2 separate regions of the Homo sapiens genome follow, and region 2 is linked to region 1. The links are contacts of gene promoters, found by promoter capture Hi-C in blood cells and fetal thymus (Javierre and others, 2016). All regions are on one chromosome and are shown on one strand. Each heading gives the region's core, a stretch centred on a gene start or on the middle of the fragment in contact. The rest is flanking DNA. Distances are from core to core; before and after follow the strand shown.

Evidence for each region. The method cuts DNA at HindIII sites, captures the fragments that hold promoters and counts their contacts. A CHiCAGO score of 5 or more calls a contact.
Region 2: the fragment with the promoter of TFG here is called in contact with the fragment with the promoter of CLDND1 in region 1 in 2 of 17 cell types (total B cells and naive B cells); the score reaches 12.1 in total B cells.

The regions. Positions count from the first base shown.
Region 1 is chr3:98,517,385-98,524,991 of GRCh38, forward strand. It overlaps CLDND1 (claudin domain containing 1), which reads right to left and starts at 5,518. Exons shown (of 5, transcript NM_001040181.2): 1 at 5,465-5,518; 2 at 3,749-4,058; 3 at 1,501-1,611. The coding sequence starts at 4,040. CLDND1-AS1 (CLDND1 antisense RNA 1) reads left to right here and starts at 5,186. Exons shown (of 2, transcript NR_198998.1): 1 at 5,186-5,449. RefSeq lists silencers at 4,965-5,074, 5,125-5,764 and an enhancer at 6,967-7,096. The HindIII fragment of the contact is 2,905 bases long and covers 4,701-7,605 here.
Region 2 is chr3:100,705,156-100,712,762 of GRCh38, forward strand. It overlaps TFG (trafficking from ER to golgi regulator), which reads left to right and starts at 4,339. Exons shown (of 8, transcript NM_006070.6): 1 at 4,339-4,566. RefSeq lists enhancers at 3,907-4,798, 4,799-5,689 and a silencer at 4,436-4,665. The HindIII fragment of the contact is 12,148 bases long and covers 1-7,607 here.

The DNA of each region.
Region 1 (7,607 bases), core at 4,268-6,767:
CAGGTAGTAGCAATTACTGAGGGTTCACTATGTTCCATGCTATGTTTGTCTACACATTTTCTGTATTAATCCTCCCAACAACCCTAGAAAGTAGGTACAGTCAGCCCTCCATATCTGCAGGTTTCACATCCGCAGATTCAACTAACCAAGGGTTAAAAATATTCAGAAAAAAAAATGATACAAATTTACAAATATATAGTATAACAACTATTTACATAGCATTTATATTGTATTGGGTATTATAAGCAATCTAAAGATGATTTAAAGTATACAGGAGGATTGTGTAGGTTATATGCTAATATTATGCCATTTTATATAAGGTACTTTAGCAACCTTGGAATTAGCAGGGGGTCCTGAATCCAATCCCCCATAGCTACAGCTGTATTATTATTAATTCCATTTTGTAATTAAGGAAACTGAGGCAAGAGTCATAAATAACTTGTAAAAATAACACAGTAAGTGGTAGAGCCAGGATTTGATACAAAAATCAGTCTGACTCTACCTACCAACAATATCTAGGTCTTTATATGATCTAAAGGCAGTAACAACAAGTAAATTAATGGTAATTATAAATGACCTGTCTTATAGGGCTGTTGAAGAATATATATAAAGCACAAAGCAGAGAATCTAAAGGTAGTTTTAATTATCATAAATCTCTCATCAACATGGGAAGAAAACCTGATGACCTCACAAAACATGCCATTCCATTTTCCAATAATATTCATTATTAGAAATGCATTCATATCAATCTTGACTAAACTTTACACCTTTTGGTGCTGGTTTTGCTTTCTGGAACTTCTTATGTGTTTTTCTAACTTACTTTCTTTCAAACTCTCCTAGTAATAAACTGCTTGCTACACATTCTCTTTATAAAACTGAATACCTACCTCTTATTCAACCTTTTCTCTTACAACATGGTCATTCTTCTGGGCAAGTCCCTATAGCCCTGAAAACTGAGGCTCAAATCTGAAGACAGTATTTCATGGGCTGCCTGACCATCAGGGAATAGGTTGTTCCTAATAAATACTTTCATCTTTTTTGACATCTACCCTTTTGTTACTATCACCTAAGACTGGATAAACACTTTTGACAGGCCTGACAACTCACTGACTCATTTAGAGCTTGCAGTAAACTTTTTTCACATATACTTACCTGAACTCAAGCAGTGGAAAGTGTTTAATTCAAATATAGGAATGTATAAGTTATCTCAACTAAATTTCCTTTTACTAAATGGGCCCATTAATAACATCTTTTGAAGGTCTAGATCCCATCATCCAATGAAGTAGTTGGCCCTGTCAACTTCAAATCATTTGAAATTTGGTAAGCATGTATCTACCTTCTAAAATATCAACAGAATAGAGTTCACTGGATACTGTTAGAGATTTTATTTCACGTTGGCACAATCTACTAACTCATCTTATTCCAAAAACATAGTCCAAAAAGAGACAAATAAAATTATCTTTGTTCCCCCAACTGTCCTGGTGAAATCAAAGTACTCACAGGTCCTAAGGAGATCAATCCCGCTATTGTGGTTTCCGGGATCAACAAATTTCTCCATGAACTGCTCAGTTAGTGTGAAACTCACACATTTTGTGACCACATCAAATGACTCTGGAACAAGAACAATTGCCTGTTGTTTTAATTATAAACATTTAACAAAAATCTCTTTCAGTAATTATTCTCTGAAGTAAAACAGTAAAGGATGTTTCCAGAGGGGTCAGCAACTTCTCTGGCCCTGACTGACACACAGGTTTCATAGATGTCCAATGGATGCCACTGGTTCTCAGTGGCAGGCTGAAGACATAGGCACAAGGAAGAAAAATAAAGTGGAAGCAGTAAAATGAATGGCAGAATAGCTATGTAGAAAGCCTAGGAAGAAGGGGAGGGAACAAAGACTGAAATAAATAGGAATGTTGATCTTCTCATGCAACCGTGCTTTATCAACCATATTCCCATCTCAGGGAATGCCAAATCCACACTTCCAGTTCCTCAGACCAGAAACTTTAGAGTAATTCTTGTACATTTACACTCCATCAGGAAATCCCAGGAATTCTTCCTTCAAACTATGTCCAGAATCCAGCTGCTGCTCAGTGCTACCATTCTGGTGTGAGTCATAATCATCACTTAACCTGAATTACTTCTATAACCTCCTAACCATAGTCTTCTAGTTTCCACCTTTGTCTGCTGCCTCTGTTCTCACAACAGCCAGGGTGACCAGATCAGGGCTCAGCACTGTATCTGGAGTCAACACCAAAGTTCTCATTCTGCCTAGAGTCCTCCAGGATTTGCCCCAGTCCCACTCCCAAAGTAGGTCTTTAACAGCATACCCAACTTCCCGTCTCTCCCTCCATTCCAGCCCAGTGGCTTCCTTACTGGTCCTTGAATATTTCAGGCATGCTCCCGCCATAGAGCCTTTGCAGTAGATGTCCTTTCCAACCTAAATGACTTCCTCCCCATTTACCCATATGGCCAACTCTTTTGTCTAGTCTTTAACTACATTCTTTACTCAAGTGGTGTCTTCTCAATGAGACCTACTTTAAGTATCCTATTGAAAATCATAACCTATGGCCACCAATATTCCTTTTCCCACATATTTCCAAATCCCTTTTGTGTTCTATTTTGCCATAGCACATGTCATCTTTTAACATACTGAATAATTATTTATTCTGTTTATACTGTTATATTCTGTTCACTGCCTGTCATCCTTTATTAGAATGCTAGCTCCCCAGGAGTAAGGATTTTGTTCTTTCCTGATGTTCTCCCAGCTAAGAGGCCCTGGAACATGGAGACATGCAATAAATTATTTGTTTAATGAATGACTAAATGGTAACACTCCAATTCCAACTCCAATTTCAATATCAAGTGCTCCTGTAACCTCATAAGTCAAACTGAACATTTTACAATGAATTTTAACCAACTTTCTCTCCTTTCCTTCCAAATTATCTTTTTTTCCAGATACAGTGACATATTATCATCCTTTTGATATATCATAACTCAAGCCTGTTCTGCTATGATTTGAATACAATGCTTCCCCACTAAGGGGCCAACAGAAGTAGTCATAAATAAACTGTAAAGTTGTTCCTTACAAAGAGTTCTAAAGCTACCATTTTAATAACTGGAAATCAAAATCTTTAAGTGTTAAATAAGAATGCCTGTAAAATAAACCTAAAAATCTAGTTTTTGGTTTTTTTTTTTTAACTTCTGTAATACAAATTTCTTAACCTACCAACTCTGCATCAAGATTGTTGTAAAACAGTCTCATAATTACACAGATTAAATGTAGAGCTGGTCAAATTATATCCTCTAAGACACAGGGGCAAATGATAGATATGTATTATAATACAGCTAACCCATAAAAGGACAATTTTTTGAGTTGATTTTCGATGGTAGTCCTTTTACTAGTTACCAAATATTTTTAAAAGTCTTTCGATGTACTTTTCCAACTATTTCTTTATAACATGTGTTAGAGTAATGAAAAGTATTTTAATGAGTGAGTAAATAAGAAAAAAAAAAGCCATTAAGGCTTTCCCAAGATAAGAAAAGTTCCTCATCCAACCAATATTGATGAGTACCATGGTAATGCAAAGAAGTTGGGGAGAGAAGGCAGTAGAAAGAGAAGATACACGATTTATTTCTTTAAGGAGAGAGAGAACCAACAAACCTGCTTACATGTAATTGGGCAATCATTACGTCGTTTTGTCTATTATTAACCAGGTGAAGAAGACAGAAGTTAAAATAAGAGAAATACCTGTCCTTTCTGGTGGGCTATACCAATGCATGTTTTTGGGTATGGTGATACACCGTCTCCACAATCCCACTGTGCCATTGTATCGAAAAAGTGCATCATTATAAGTCTTTTCATCTGCCTCATCACTAATGAATTCATCCCAGATGCTTTTATTCAAATCACTGGAATTTTCTTGAACTGGACTTCGATATTCATACCAGAAGTCTGTGCCAATGGAGGCTGCCATGTAGATGGTGGAAATGAGGCTAAGCACACAAGCAATTACAAATGCTGTAGCAAAACGGTTATCCATTCTGGCATTCAGACTGCTCTGTTTAGAAGTTGAAGAAAGAAGATAAGTTAGAGTTTACGGACAAATAAGAAAGATTATTTTGAATTATTCCAAATGCACCCTTTACCCAATTCCCCATCCCTTCGTACATATAACCATTAAGAATTTTTTTTAGAAAGCAAGCATGTTTTTAATTAAGCTTAAAACAAAACTCATTCTCATAAAAGTACTTATTGAATGCTCACATACCCAGGATGCTACGGAGACAGAGGTCTTGTTCTCTAGTCTATCACCTGCATACTAAAACAGACAACACTGAAATGGACATACACATTACAGATACAAACAATAGACATGCCCATGGTCAGCAGTGTACCGTGCACACATTTTAAATTACAGACTGAATTTTTGCACGAGCTGCAGAGGATTAAGTGTTCTGGGTTTGAGTGTTAAAAAGGCACAGGAAAAAGAAGCAGTGGAAATTGGCTTCTCCCAGTTTCCTCTGAAGAGGGAAGCCTCCTAAAACAAAGGTAAGAGTCAGGAGCCATACAGAAAACAGAGTTGAAGATGTTTGTTAACCCCGAGGGAAAGGTTGTTCTAGGTGTATAAAATAGCAAAGAGAACAATAACATGTAATAATGCTAGATAGCAATCTCTCCCTAATCCATTAAAGCTAAGCCAAGCTTCTTTACGCTGCCAAATGCTTCACTCCTATCTACTCTCCCGATTCCTTATACTTCTGAACCTCCTCAACAGAAATCTTGCTCTCTCCCTAAATCCTCAGTGCAACATACGTCCGCAAAAACTAAATGATCCCTCCTCAGCCAGACAGAAAACTCTCAACATATCAACACTCCCAAGGCGTGGACAGGGCTCAACGGCAGTAGTAAATGGCCGCGGTAAAATGACTCAAGGCAGATCGCGCTGAGTCAAATACTACACGGCAAGTATACACCGTGACCGCACCAAACACCTTACAAAGGTTCATGAAAACAGACTCGCAAACTGGGGTTGCTGAGTTTGGAAAATGGGAAGTGACTCAGGAAAGATAAGAGCAATGACAACGAAAACTCAAAAAGTTGGATTTGTATTTTGATTTTTTAAAAATCCCCCCTTCATCCTGGTGCTCTCAAATGACCTTAAAGGGTCCCAGCACTGGGAACGGCGGTTCGTCCAAGCCGGACGCCTGCAGCAGCCACCTCCTGGGCCTCACGGCGGGGCCGGAGAAGGCCAGGGCTGGGGCGGGGCAGCCGTGCTCGGCCCCGGGCCAGGGTCCCCCGGTACCCGACCAGGCCCCGCCCTAGAGGGCTCGGCCCTGGGACAAATCCGCCGCTCGGAACCCGCCCAGCCCGACCACGCCCGGGAAGGGGGCCCCTCTTCAAACCGCCGGGAACATGGAACCGCGACGCGACCCCTGCCCGGCGACGCAGGTCCCGCTCACTCACCGCCCATCCTCCTGCTCCGCCAGCTTCACCCTCTAGCTCAGACCACAGCACCCTACTCTCCCCGCGCCTCCTCTGACGCACTTCCCTGCAGAGCCCGCCCCCTCCATAACTCCCGCGCCTCCGCCCGCCCCCACTCCGGGCCGGGCCGCGGCCCGGGGCCGAGGGGCCTTGTGGGAGTTGTAGGAGGGACAGACTGAAAGCTGTCTGAGGCGGCGATAGGCATTCCTGGCGCCGCGCGCGGCGCATTGTGGGAGATGTAGTTCAGCTCCTCAGGGCAAGCCGGTACGCAGAAGGGAAGTCTAGGCTGTTGGATTCTTGCATTTTAGGGAGGAAGGGAGAATGGTCCAGAAAGTAAAGCGGGCCTGTTTCCGGTCATCTCGAGTCAATGACCGTGACTTGTATAACTTAGATCTGACTTTTAGGCCTGTGCTTTCCCTATCACACCACCCTGCCTCTAGATCTAAGTATAAATGAACAAAAATGGGATTCTACTTGTGAAACGTTGACCCATTTTATTTCCCTCTCCCAGAATCCCTCCCATTGGAGCAGAGCATCCTTCTGGTTTTATTGCATAAGTTTAGGCTAAGAAGTATGTGACCTGGCAGACAGTATCCATCAAGAATGTAATGATATTATTTGGGTTTCATAAAATGTGTTTGTAGCTGCCTTCTTTTTATGACAAGTGATACTAGTTTTCTATTGCAGCAATGTTGTTCCTTTTAAATTCTTTTCACTTATTTTAAAAACTATTAAGTTAATAATACTGAGGATACCAGATATGTCAAAAAATGAATAAAAAATTGTGGGTATAGTAGGAAAAAGACTGAAATTTGGGGAACATCACTCAAGCAGATAAGGTCATGGACAGCATTGGAGATTGCAGATGATGTGTGGCACAGGGGCAACAATGATTCTGAACCCTCAGGTTTAACACAGAAATTCATGGACAGGAAGCAGGGACATCTTAACAATAACATGAGTGGAACTATTAACGTGGCCTGGGACCAGCAAATGGTGGATTTCTCAACAGTAACCGACAGAGAAAGCTGACTCAAGGACCAGAGGGGCTCTCAAACCCCCACTCTGTCCCCTAATGCCTTGTAATTTAGCATAGGAGAAAGATGGGAGCTGCAAGTTGATATTAAATTTCTACCACTTTGACAGATTAAAGGCATGATATGTTTCTCTATCTGTACTTACATTTCTTTGACCTGAGTGGGTGAAACTGATATTCATATGCAGCACATAATAAGGTAGTAGCCAAATATATTCAAACATGACTCTGGATTTTCATATACAGCATATAATCAAAAAAAAATTTGTCAGAGGCACCAACTAGAGAAAGTGATGGAGAGGCACAGGCAAATTGTCAATGTGTAGTAAGACACATAAATGCCCTTATACTCCAGGAAATGTCTTCATCCATTGGCCTTCATTAGAAATCCCCTATTTTCCGCCGGGCATGGTGGCTCACGCCTGTAATCCCAGCACTTTGGGAGGCCGAGGCGGCAGATCACGAGGTCGGGAGATCGAGACCATCCTGGCTAACACGGTGAAACCCCGTCTCTACTAAAAATACAAAAAAATTAGCCAGGCGTGTTGGTAGGCGCTTGTGGTCCCAGCTACTTGGGAGGCTGAGGCAGGAGAATGGCATGAACCCGGGAGGCGGAGCTTGCAGTGAGCCAAGATCACGCCACTGCACTCCAGCCTGGGCGACAGAACAAGACTCTGCCTCAAAAAAAGAAATTCCCCACTTTCAGATTTACCTCTCCACTGAGATCATGTGGTCAGTAAACCAGGCAAAAGAGAAGTTTAAAGGAGAGAGAAGAAACAACTTCAGTCTACAGATAAAGGAACTAGAGAGAGTAACTGACTTGGTAGCAAACTTGGATATTAGAGTAACTGACTACCATGGTAACACACTTGAATATACTCATTTTGTGACTTTGGAGAATTAACCTTCTTTAAGTCTCGGTTGTCTTTTCTCCAAAATATGGATGTTGACAGTAGCATCTATCCCACATGATCATTGTGAAGATTGAGAAAAACATATAAAACGCCCAGCACAGGACCTGAGGTTTAGGAAAGAATCATTAAGTTATTAGTATTTGCAAATATTTGTTGAATATAATATTTGAGTAAG
Region 2 (7,607 bases), core at 3,089-5,588, 2.2 Mb after region 1:
TGGGATTATAGGCATGAGGAGCCACCACACTGGGCTTCGGTTTCTTTCTTTCTTTTGGAGCTGGAGTCTCGCTCTGTCACCCAGGCTGGAGTGCAGTGGCACGAACTTGGCTCACTGCAACCTCCACCTCCCAGGTTCAAGCAATTCTCCTGTCTCAGTCTCCCCAGTATCTGGAATTACAGGCGAATGTCACCATGCCCGGCTAATTGGGCCTAGGTTTCTTAAATGAGCCTAACAAAGCTACTCTTGATCAAATGAAAAGTTATATCTTCTTGCACATCTTGTGGCATTTGTATGAGTCTACTAGGGCTACCATAACAAAACACCACAGACTGGGTGGCTTAAACATCAGAAATTTATTTTCTCATAGTTCTGGAGGCTGGAAATAAAAATTTGGTAAGTTTGGTTTCTTCTGAGGGCTCTCTCCTTGGCTTGCAGAAGGCTGCCTTCTTAATGTATCTTCACATGGCCTTGCCTCTGTGTGCACCCATCTCTGGTTTCTCTCTGTGTGTCCTAATCTCCTCTTCTTATAAGGACATCAGTCATACTGAATTAGGGGCTCACCCCAATGACCTCGTTTTAACTTAATCACCTCTTTAAAGAATCCATCTCCAAATACAGTCACCTTTTGAGGTGGTTCAATATATGAATTCTGGGGGAAGGATGCAATTCAGCTCACAATTGCATTTCTCTTTCAACTTGAAATCTGACAGGTAATTTAGCAGAGAGGTAACTTAGCACTGTCTCCAGGGGATGTAAATGAAGAAAAGTGAATGATTTCAAATTACTAAGAGACAAATCCTACATGGCTAGGGAGTTAGGAACTTACCCGTTGACAGCTGATCCTTTTGTTTTTTCTGGGAGCTTGCCCTGTAAAGTGGTGGGGAACTTAGTTTTCATTATTTTATTCAATAACTATGTATTGAATGTCTAGATCAGCCTCTAGTGATACAAAATCTAGGAAGAACTGCCTTTGAGAGTAGTTTCTCTAAAGAGAGATTGGACATAGAGCATCATGGTAAGGCAAAAGCATTTTAGGGATTTCACGGATGTGAAGCTGGTAGGACAGGTTGAAGTATTTTGCTTAGCTAGTGCTAAGAATCACTCACTCAAAGGTACAAAGTAAGAAATCGTTCCTTTCTCCTTCATTATCTCTGCATAGGGTGGCAGCTTCCTATGTTCACACAAGCAAATCTTTACATTTAGCCAGTGAAGGTGAGGCTGAGCTGACTAGCTGGCTCCTGTTTGGTCCTCATGATTCCCCTTCTGTTTGGAGTTCTCTTTTTTTAGCTAGCTGCTGCCACAACAGAGCTGATTCTTGGCAAGGGACATAACTTCTCGTTGGAAATTCTCATCCAAGGAGGAATGTACACGCTTTCCTTTGTTCTTCTGAGGACATATAAGATGACTCAAATTTTCAAAATGATTTATACTAAGTACTAAAGAAGAACATGATGAAACATAGATTTTATCTAACTTGCTAACAGGGCTCATAGTCTTTGTCTCATTTCTTGTCCAGTCTGAGAATCCCGTTTTCATTCTTAGGATTTTTTCCCCCCATTCCATGTGAGGAGTTTTAGCTACACAGACTTTCAGGGAGAAAGAGCAGGTGGTAGCTAAGTTGGTTGGTTGACTCCTTCTCTTAAAATCACAGTGTAAGTCTTAACCCTTCTTCAGATGAAACATGGAAAATAACCTGTGTAGTGCAGAATCTCATATCTTTCCTTGCTACAGTCTGGGTCAAAGATATTTCCTTGCACTCCTTCTCCTTCCTTCACATATCCTCAACTTTAATATACTACCATTAAGCAGTATTTTCTTTTCTTTTTTTTCTTAGCAGTTCCTTGGAAGAAATGAGTAGTATTTTCTAGTTCAAGACTATGCTCAGTGTTCATTTAAAACCAAATTCATCTAGATGCAGAAAAGAAGGCCAGTATGTATCTACAGACATAGTAGAAGAGACCCATCTTCTTGTAAGTGAGGTAACTGGTTCAATTCAGGTTATGGCTCTGTCACTAGATATCACCTGTATTTATTGGGAGCTTAAGTACATAGATGTGCATCAGCTTCGACTTGAGAAATCACCAGAACCCCACCTCTCAAGTTCCACAGAAGTAGCTGGGAATAGGCTTTACCATAAAGAAGACTTTACTGATGGCTTCGGGATGAAGCATGAGGGAAATTACAACATAAAGAGCCTCAAGTTGCTTTCGGAGTCCATGAGCTCCATGAGCTCCAGCTTTTCCACAAGGCCAGCTTATGGGTGCCTCTCTTCCTAGCGTACAGATGACCACAGTGTAACAGGGACCAGCTTATTTCTCCTCAGTAGCAGGACTCTTGAGTGCCCCCTCACTGGGGATCCTCAGCAGATACTCTTTTCACCTTATAATAGGCCAAGGTTCACCTCCTTATCTCCTGCCTCAGGATCTGACCTCTTTTTAGTTTAAATATACTACTATAACAGTAGTATAATTCACTTCCTTCAGGGAATATTTTACCTTTGCCATATGGTTGTGGTTTTACCCCATCCCAAACCATCTTAATGACATCATAATACTATTATCTGACAGCAGTGCATCTCCCCAAATCTGTATTATTCAGTTTTAAAAAATAAGCAATGAATAACATTCTTTGGAGAGCAATTAGGAACTGTTTTTCATTTCTTCTGCAGTACTCCACTCCCTTATCCCTGCAAACAATTGCTCAAAGGTCAATACAACTGTTGGAAAATACAAATCAGAAGTGAACAGTGTAAACTTACATTATTTCACTCTCAAACAGAAGTTTCAGAGACTTATAACTGAAAAAGATCACACTACTTATGGTTGTAAAAGAACGTAGCTTCTCACCCTGAAACACCAGAATTTACTCCAGGTCCTTTAGGAGTATCTGGTGTTAAAGCAAACTAAATATGGCCTGAGAAGGACTCCATACATCTATACTTGAATCCTTGTGGATGAACTGTAACCTAGCTTAACAGACAAGATTGAAAACCTAACTTAGAAGTATGCGTCTCTTACAATAAGCGAGTCTTGGCCAATTCCAGCCGCCACACTTCAATCACTCATAGACTGCTAAGTGTTCAAATAAGGCCAACGCCAACCTGTAACCAATCCAGCTGTTTCTGTACTTCACTGCCAATTTCTGTACCTCATTTCCCTTTTTTTGTCTATAAATCTTCCACCACGTGGCTCTGCTGGAGTCTCTTAATCTGCTGTGATTCTGGGGGCTGCCCAATTCGTGAAATCGTTCACTGCTCAATTAAACTCCTTTAAATTTAATTCAGCTTAAGTTTTTCTTTTATAACTGGTAAACAACTGGAGACCAGGTAGGGTCTAAATGCTTTATTTATCAGCTTAGTCTCCACCTTAGAAGTGACAAACATTCTCCGTTTGGCCAAACTTCGGGCTCCTGGGCCTTCTCCTAGGACCATCTGTGCATCTTCTTGTAAAACTCAGTTTCAGCAAAGAACCTTGTTAAGGCAGTGTAGTGAGAATCCCTCACCCTTGATGGGGTTCCTCATCCTCCACCACCCCCAGGTGATGTCTGCTATCCTGGCCTATCTTCGTCTAGAATCCTGTTGTGTTGGTTTAGCCAGAATCTCCCTTGCCCCTGATATTTCCTCTTAGTAATTTTCCATCCACTGACCGACTTCCACCCCTTGGCTATAAATTCCTACTTACTCATACTGTATTTCTATTTGAACAGGTAAGGGAGAAGGGAAGAGTACGTAGGACACACTCAAATGCCTTATCCTCTAAAAATCACTCAGGAATCTTTAGCCTTAATTTCCCAGCTTTTGTCCTTTACACAGTTACAGATTTTCCTTGCTCATAAACGCTGTAGGTCTTCCCTGCTTAATTGGAAACTCCTTGCTCACAAAATGATTCACCCCCATTCCTAGAACCGGGCTTGGCAAAGCATAGGCTCCCAATAATGAATGAATGGATTTATAGAAGAAAAGGTTTTTTCTTTTTCAGCTGTTACTACAATGGTCAACAATAACGACAAAAACCACTTAAAGTTGGACAGACGTCTACTGCAACCAACTCTCAAAAAGTTTAGAACAGCGCACTACGCCCCGCCCATTGGCGAGAAACGGAAATACCCGCTTTCGAGAAAACCGGAAGTGCGTGGTCACGCCCCGCGCATGCGTGCATCGGGGCAGCTCACGCTTCCTAAATCCCGTCATCCAGTGAGAAAGCAGGGACTCTTCGGCCTAGGCAGCCGGGACCCAGCCAGCCCTGCGCCTCGCGCCGTCGCGCATGCGTCCTGGGTATGTCCACGCGCAATAAGGAGGGGCGAAAGGACATTTTTTTTTTTCTTGCTCCCGCCTCTGTTCTTCCCCCACCTGCCACGTACAGAGCCCAAGTTCTCGCTAGGCTTGTTGGGTCAGCGCGATTGGCCGGGGCCCGCGCGAGCCTGCGAGCGAGGTGCGGCGGTCGCGAAGGGCAACCGAGGGGGCCGTGACCACCGCCTCCCCGCGACGCCCCAGTCCAGTGGCCTCGCGTCCGCCCATTCAGCGGAGACCTGCGGAGAGGCGGCGGCCGCGGCCTCCGCAAGCCGGTATGGCCACTGGAGACGGGGGTTGCGGGCGCTCTGTCCGAGGAGGCCGGGAGACTAGGAGGCGCTGGGAGGGCCTCGTTCGAACCGCGCGGCAGCTGGGGTCGGAGGCACTGTGGGAAGGGGCTGGAGGGAGGAGGGGGTGGGAGGGAGGAGGGGGTGGGAGGGAGGACGAGGCCGGGGGGGAGGGCGGGCGGGGCCTTGCATGGGGGGAGGGGAAGGGAGGTCGCGGAGGGGGAGGGGAGAGAGGCAACCCCTGGCTGCGGTGGCCAGGAGGCGCGCCTGGGGGGCTCCGGGAGGGGAGTGCGCCAGCTAATGCCTTGGTGCAGCCTGCCTCCAAGCGTTTGGATTGAGAGGAGAGGGGCTTTGGGAGGTTTGGGGCGGCCGGCGCCCAATACCCGAAGGAGCTCGGAAGGGTGTGGAGTGGCGCCTACGGGAATAAGTTGATTGGGGTCATAGAATCGGAGCCTAGTTCCTTGGCTAAGTCAGCGCTTAATCAAGCGCCGGCTGGAGGCCCAGCCTGGTTTATAGTGATGATTCTAGCTAACTTTAAGAGTTTGCTTTGCTGGACACTACAGTAAGTATTTTGGATGCACTGTCTCATTTAATCATCACAAGGATTCCTCCAAATTCAGATATGGTTGTTTTCATTTCGAATGTGATGAAAGTGAGCCTTGGAGGACTTAAGATCACATAGCTAGTAGTGAGAATCTTTACCGTCTTGCTGCACTGCCTTTGAGGCAGGGTTTGAGGCCTCTTGGCATTCTTTAGAATAATTACAGGTTGACTTGGCTTAGTATTTCTTGAAGGAAACTGCTCCCCTCAGGAGGTGCTTAAGCCACAGCCTCTGAAATTGAGCAGGGTCTTACCCTTAGAGGTAGTAGAACCAGAAGTTTGTCCGCCGAACCTAGAACCTGGTTCAGGAGGCAGGCTTTTTATATGACCTTGGGCGTGTCAGATTATTCCCAGTGCTGAGAAAAGTGTACCTGGTAGAGGGTTATATTATACAAGTTAGAAGCCGAGTCATTTCTGGACTTCAGAGGGGGCGGGGCAAGGACAAGATGGGAGAAGAGCTTGTCGTAGGGCTCCTACTGGCAGTTCTAGGAACTAGTTAATACCAGTCTCTACTTTGGAAGAGAAAATGAGTACCAGAATTCTGTATGTGAAGTAATGTTGGGTTGGGATTTCCCCTTGAAGGGAAAGTTTTGTTGCACACTTACTTTTGAGATACTTTTGTGTTTACTCTGGGGAGATGACTGCAAGAGCAAACGACAGCTTTAGGAAAGAAGCACTGGTTCCTGGCCACAAGATGTTTACAGTCAATAGGAAACACAAAAAGTGAATTTGCAGGTAAACACGGCAGATAGAAAGTATACGTGACTCAATTTTTTTTTTTTTTTGAGACGGAGTCTGGCTCTGTCGCCCAGGCTGTAGTGCAGTGGCGTGATCCCCCAGCTCACTGCAACCTCCGCCTCCCGGGTTCAAGCGATTCTCCTGCCTCAGTCTCCTGAGTATCTGGGATTACAGGCGTGCGCCACGACAACTGGCTCATTTTTGTATTTTTAGTAGAGACAGGGTTTCACCCTGTTGATCGGTCTGGTCTTGGACTCCTGACCTCGTGATCTGCCCGCCTCGGCCTCCCAAAGTGCTGGGATTACAGGTGTGAGCCACCGTGCCCGGCCCTCAAATTTTAAATCCATTGAAATTGGGCAACAAACCCGTACCCCAGTCAGAAGGACATACCATCAATTATCTTCAAAGCTGGAATTTTTTTCTTAATTAGGAGTGTGTCTGATGGAAGTCACTTCTAGCTACATAAAGAAGGTACAGTGTGAGGGGTCGGATGTAAAAACTGATCTATATTACAGCTTTCTTCTCCCATAATTAAAAAATTTAAACAAAGTCTTTAAATTCTATATGTCAGGCACTTTTCTAGGTGCTGCTGGGAATAGATAGTACCAGCTCACTGAAGCTAAGCACTGGTTCCTTTTACATTATTGCTGGTTTACACTTCTTGTAGGAAGGAGAAGGTAACAAATACATTGATTTATTGAAAGGTCTTTATTACTCTTAGGCTGCCAGAGCAAGCAAGATGGAATATTTACCATCTTGGTGAAGTAATTATACTTTAGAGTTGGCACATAGTAGGTATTTAATAAGTAGTTCCTGAATACCGAAAGCATTGCAGAAGGCATTGCAGAAGGCGAAGAGTTGGTTGTGTGGAGATTTCTGTTAATCACTGTCTTCACGAGAAGTCCATTGTGAGAACTGGCAGATAAAAAGCTAACTGTATTCTTATTTTGCATTAAGATAAGCATGGCATCCCTAGAGTGGAATGCAGTTCACTCTGTTCTGCATTGACCTTAGAGTGTTATATTTAGTTTTAATGACCCATTTCATTGAAGATTTATTAATAAAATATCTGTTGAGAGCATGGTGAGGGGTCTAGAGATATTAATTTAAGGACTAGTTAGATGGAAGGACCTAGCGTATTTATATGAAGAATAGTAGGGCATTAATATATAATATTCATATAATAGGATTCATGAAAACTTTTTTGAAGTACTTGAAGGGTTGATATGTTGGGGGAGTAGGTGAGTGCTTTCACATACCCCGAAAGAATAAAGAATAATTGCAGAGAAGTGTGGTGTTAATGAAATAACAGATTTAAGAGGAGGAAGCAGAAAGCTGCTAGTAGTAAGGCGGGAAGTTGAAACTAGAATGTGGCCAGTAGTAGTTTGTAGGATACCTTGAAAAGTCTCAAGAGATCATTTTCTTGGGGCAGGAGGAGGAAGGAGTTATGCTTGGAAAATGTTCAGCGATTATAGATAACATTCAGGAACATCTTGGCCTTGAGAAGAAGAGATATTAATCCATTATTTTTCCCTTTATTTAATAGCTGTTGAATGACTGTTGTCTGCTAGGCACTGTTGTAGACTCTGGGAATATGGAAAACATAATCGTTTACTTCCTACCATCAAGTGGAAAAGACAATAAAATGTTATAAATTTTTAATGTCTGGTAGTGTTAAGTGCTTTGAAGAA